2 separate regions of the Homo sapiens genome follow, and region 1 is linked to region 2. Evidence: promoter capture Hi-C in 16 types of primary human blood cells and fetal thymus (Javierre and others, 2016). All regions are on one chromosome and are shown on one strand. Each heading gives the region's core, a stretch centred on a gene start or on the middle of the fragment in contact. The rest is flanking DNA. Distances are from core to core; before and after follow the strand shown.

What was found. The method cuts DNA at HindIII sites, captures the fragments that hold promoters and counts their contacts. A CHiCAGO score of 5 or more calls a contact.
Region 1: a contact is called between a fragment that was not itself captured here and the fragment with the promoter of DAPK1 in region 2, in 1 of 17 cell types (erythroblasts). The highest score is 6.3, in erythroblasts.

Annotation. Positions count from the first base shown.
Region 1 is chr9:87,327,780-87,330,581 of GRCh38, forward strand. No RefSeq gene overlaps it. Among named protein-coding and RNA genes, the nearest start is that of DAPK1, 170 kb to the right of the region's middle. The HindIII fragment of the contact is 6,039 bases long and covers 1-2,802 here.
Region 2 is chr9:87,496,472-87,499,171 of GRCh38, forward strand. It overlaps DAPK1 (death associated protein kinase 1), which reads left to right and starts at 1,396. Exons shown (of 26, transcript NM_004938.4): 1 at 1,396-1,636; 2 at 2,499-2,668. The coding sequence starts at 2,607. RefSeq lists silencers at 1,045-1,104, 1,125-1,474, 1,845-2,034, 2,245-2,354 and an enhancer at 1,745-2,502. The HindIII fragment of the contact is 10,886 bases long and covers 1-2,700 here.

The DNA.
Region 1 (2,802 bases), core at 213-2,712, 170 kb before region 2:
GCTGGTGCCTACTAATCCAAGCCAGCAATAGGCATCAGATTCACATCTGTTTTAACCTCCTGATTCTGAATATTCAGCTAAATCCCTAGTAGATTCACACTGCTCCAAACCAACCCCTAAACTAGGATCTCCACTAGCACCAAACTTGTCTGTCCAAACTCAAAGTTAAAGACCAGATTTCCATAAATTCCTGGGTGTAGAATTTACAGTGTGAGTAACTTCCGCCACAAAAGCTCAACTGATCATAAGCAGTTTCCCCACAAGTCCACCACATTCCTTCTACTCCACTTGGATGTGGGGACATTCACAATGGCAGGAAGAGAACCCTGGCAGACTCTGCTGGACTCACCCCAGAGATAGGTGGTCTCTCAGTAGTGATGAGAGTGAGACTCAGGAATACAGAGGGAAGGGAAATGAGGCAGGGGCCACCTGCAGAGAGTGCTCCCGTGGCTGGATCTAGTGAGATCACCCTTCAAGAAGCCATGCAAATGGCACTACAGGACAGTTAGTCCAGGGGTGCAAAGCGGAAGAATTTATCCACTGGCTCCTATGTCCCAGGGTCAAATGTTTGCCCCGTGTGGCGTTGCCTCCGCCATGCTTCATGGCTGTGCATGCATGAACACTGAGCATGGTCTGTAGTGTTTCATGCCTCATCCCAGGCCAAAGCAAGAGACAGGCATCACAGAAGGGGGTGGGGCAGATCAGGGAACACCAAGGGAAAGTCACTTGGAGCTCTCACAGAGCCGGTTGCCACTATAATAACTGGAAAAGTAGGTCAGGCCAAGAGGCTATGAATTGTGCATAAGAGATATCTGAGTCTCCACAACACAGTAGTTCCACTCCTGCTAGATCCTGGAAAAGAAAAATCTCACACATTTTCACAAGGAGACAGGTACTAGAATTTTAATGTATTTTATTTTATTTATTTATTTATTTATTTTGAGATGGAATCTCACTCTGTCACCCAGGCTGGAGTGCAGTGGTGCGATCTCGGCTCACTACAACCTCCGCCTGCCAGGTTCAAGCGATTCCCTTGCCTCAGCCTCCCGAGGAGCTGGGATTACAGGTGCCTGCCACCACACCCAGTTCATTTTTGTTTTTTTTTTTTCTTTTTTGAGATAGAGTTTTGTTCTTGTTGCCCAGGCTGGAGTGCAATGGTGCGATCTCAGCTCACTGCAACCTCCGCCTCCCAGGTTCAAGCGATTCTCCTGCCTCAGCCTACCTAGTAGCTGGGATTACAGGCATGCGCCACCACGCCCGGCTAATTTTGTATTTTTAGTAGAGACGGGGTTTCTCCATGTTGGTCAGACTGGTCTCGAACTCCCGACTTCAGGTGATCTGCCCACCTCGGCCTTCCAAAGTGCTGGGATTACAGGCATGAGCCACCGCGCCCGGCAGGTACTAGAATTTTATTGTCGCATTGTTATGTATGTATGTTTTTATATTTTGATCTTATGTCCAGGGTTAATCCTACAGTATTAGAATTAGCAATTCTAATTCTTTACGTGTTGGTAAGATTCTTACATTGTTGGTAAGATTTTGTATGTTGATACCTGCAGCTCTAATTCATTTTTATTGTTATATAATGATTTATTTGCTTGTTTTACTACAGAGTAGTCATCCATTCTCTCATGGGTGGACTTTTAGATCGTTTAAGTAGTCCGCTTCTCCTCCCCTTCCTTCTCCTCCTTTCCTATTACATAACAATGCAACAATAAAATTCTAGTACCTGCCGAGCGCGGTGGCTCATGCCTGTAATCCCAGCACCTTGGGAGGCTGAGGCAGGTGGATCACCTGAGGTTAGGAGTTCGAGACCAGACTGACCAACATGGTGAAACCCCATCTCTACTAAAAATACAAAAATTGGCCAGGCATGGTGGTGTGCGCCTTTAGTCCTAGCAACTGGGGAGGCTGAGACAGGAGAATTGCTTGAATCCGGGAGGAAGAGCTTGCAGTGAGCCAGCTGAGATCGTGCCACTACACTCCATCCTGGGTGACAGAGTGAGACTCCATCTCAAAAAAAAAAGAAAAATGCTTTGGCAACAGTTTATACTGCACATCAATACTAAATTCAGACTTTGTTTCGGGCCTCAATTCTTATTTTTTTAACTTTTTACCAAGAATCTTGCCCAACTGAAGGAAATATCAAATGCATTTTTATAGTGAATTCTCAGTATATACAGAGTAAATTTCAATTGTGCAAATGGTAGATATTAACATGCCTTCAGTGAGTAGGATGAATCAAAGGGAAAATATGAAAATAATTGAAAAGTTCTAGAAATGAGCTATTTGTCTTCTCTACACAAGAAAAAGTAGCACCCAGTTCCATGTGACTCCTTGTTAACAGAGGCAGTCACCATCCTCCAGCTGTGGTCGTCTCCAAAGATGACCACCATGCTATCAACTCTCCCTGCCTGTATGTACATCCATTCCTCTAATGAGAGGTGGAGTGTACTTCTTTTCCTTTGAATCTGGGCTAGCCCCTTGCTCTGATGGATAAAATATGTCAGAAGTGAATTTTGAACTCAGGAGTTAAGCTGACCCTTTCTACCTCCTTCTTGGAACATTCATTCTTGGAACTGAGGCATCAAATTTTGAGGAAGCCTAAATAACTACATTGCAAGGCCCATATGGGGGAAAACAAAGGTCTTTGGTAAACAGCCCTAGCTCAGCTCCCAGCCAACATGCAGTACCAACTGCCAGACATGTGAGTGAGCTCTCCTGGGTCTTTCTTCCCAGTCGAGCCCTCAGAAGACTGCAGAGTCAGCTGACATCGCATGGAGCAGAAAAACTGACCCCAAG
Region 2 (2,700 bases), core at 146-2,645:
ATGTGGGGAATCAACCCTTCTTCGTCTCCACCCAAACATTAGGTGGGAGCAAGGGGTGGGAAGTAGAGAAAGTGGATAGAGGTCTCCAGTGGATATGGGATCTTTGTGTAGACCAGCACAGTCCTCAGAAATCTCATGCAAGCAACATAGGTACTGTTATATTTTCTAGTGGCCACCTTTTAAAAAGTAAACAGGTGAGGCCGGGCGCGGTGGCTCACGCCTGTAATCCCAGCACTTTGGGAGGCCCAGGCGGGCGGATCACGAGGTCAAGAGATGGAGACCATCCTGGTCGACACGGTGAAACCCCGTCTCTACTAAAAATACAAAAATTAGCTGGGCATGGTGACGCGCGACTGTAGTCCTAGCTACTGGGGAGGCCGAGGCAGGAGAATCACTTGAACCCTGGAGGTGGAGGTTGCCACGCTCCACTACACTCCAGCCTGGCGACAGAGTGAGACTCCGTCTCAAAAAAAAGAAAGTAAACAGGTGAAATTAATTTTAATAATATATTTTGTTTAACCCAACGTATCCAAAATACTATCATTTGAAAGTGTAATGAATATAAAAATATTCATGAGATATTTTTCATTCTCATATCCATACTGTCTTGGACTCTAATGTGTATTTTACACTTACAGCACAATTAATTTGGGACTAGCTACATTTCAGCTCAACAATAGCCAATAGCATATGGGATAGCGCAAATAAACTCTGCGTCTCTGTTGCTTCTTTGGGTCTCGGAGACCTCAACCCTTTCTTCAGATTGCAAACCTTCTTGCCTTCAAGCCTCGGCTCCAACACCAGTCCGGCAGAGGAACCCAGTCTAATGAGGTACGCTCCCTTCCTGCCATTCTCTATTCCATTAACCTGTTTCGTGGTAAACGTAGGACTGATCCTCCAAAATTACCTTATTAATTAGCTTACATATTTATTATCTATCTGTCCCACCAGAATGCAGGTTTCCGGAAGGCAGGGATTTAAAAAAATCTGTTTTGTTCTATGTGATTTTCCCATACCAAGCACCGTGCCCGGCACAAGCTGGGATCCCAGTACACATCTCGGGACGGAAGAACCGTGTTTCCCTAGAACCCAGTCAGAGGGCAGCTTAGCAATGTGTCACAGGTGGGGCGCCCGCGTTCCGGGCGGACGCACTGGCTCCCCGGCCGGCGTGGGTGTGGGGCGAGTGGGTGTGTGCGGGGTGTGCGCGGTAGAGCGCGCCAGCGAGCCCGGAGCGCGGAGCTGGGAGGAGCAGCGAGCGCCGCGCAGAACCCGCAGCGCCGGCCTGGCAGGGCAGCTCGGAGGTGGGTGGGCCGCGCCGCCAGCCCGCTTGCAGGGTCCCCATTGGCCGCCTGCCGGCCGCCCTCCGCCCAAAAGGCGGCAAGGAGCCGAGAGGCTGCTTCGGAGTGTGAGGAGGACAGCCGGACCGAGCCAACGCCGGGGACTTTGTTCCCTCCGCGGAGGGGACTCGGCAACTCGCAGCGGCAGGGTCTGGGGCCGGCGCCTGGGAGGGATCTGCGCCCCCCACTCACTCCCTAGCTGTGTTCCCGCCGCCGCCCCGGCTAGTCTCCGGCGCTGGCGCCTATGGTCGGCCTCCGACAGCGCTCCGGAGGGACCGGGGGAGCTCCCAGGCGCCCGGGTGAGTAGCCAGGCGCGGCTCCCCGGTCCCCCCGACCCCCGGCGCCAGCTTTTGCTTTCCCAGCCAGGGCGCGGTGGGGTTTGTCCGGGCAGTGCCTCGAGCAACTGGGAAGGCCAAGGCGGAGGGAAACTTGGCTTCGGGGAGAAGTGCGATCGCAGCCGGGAGGCTTCCCCAGCCCCGCGGGCCGGGTGAGAACAGGTGGCGCCGGCCCGACCAGGCGCTTTGTGTCGGGGCGCGAGGATCTGGAGCGAACTGCTGCGCCTCGGTGGGCCGCTCCCTTCCCTCCCTTGCTCCCCCGGGCGGCCGCACGCCGGGTCGGCCGGGTAACGGAGAGGGAGTCGCCAGGAATGTGGCTCTGGGGACTGCCTCGCTCGGGGAAGGGGAGAGGGTGGCCACGGTGTTAGGAGAGGCGCGGGAGCCGAGAGGTGGCGCGGGGGTGCCACCGTTGCCGCAGGCTGGAGAGAGATTGCTCCCAGTGAGGCGCGTACCGTCTGGGCGAGGGCTTCATTCTTCCGCGGCGTCCCTGGAGGTGGGAAAGCTGGGTGGGCATGTGTGCAGAGAAAGGGGAGGCGGGGAGGCCAGTCACTTCCGGAGCCGGTTCTGATCCCAACAGACCGCCCAGCGTTTGGGGACGCCGACCTCGGGGTGCCGTGGTGCCCGGCCCCACGCGCGCGCGGGGCTGAGGGGTCGGGGGCGTCCCTGGCCGCCCAGCTTTAACAAAGGGTGCTCCTCTCCACCCCGCGAGGAGGGGCAGCTCCGGAGACCCGGTCTTCAGCGAGCGGGGTCTTAGCGCCGGGGAGGTCTACTTCCTTTTGGGGTTGCCATTTTACTATTATTATTGCCTTTTTTTTTTCTTCAAAAGGACTGGAGACTGATGCATGAGGGGGCTACGGAGGCGCAGGAGCGGTGGTGATGGTCTGGGAAGCGGAGCTGAAGTGCCCTGGGCTTTGGTGAGGCGTGACAGTTTATCATGACCGTGTTCAGGCAGGAAAACGTGGATGATTACTACGACACCGGCGAGGAACTTGGCAGGTAAAGGGGGTACCAGAAGCGTACCCTCCTGG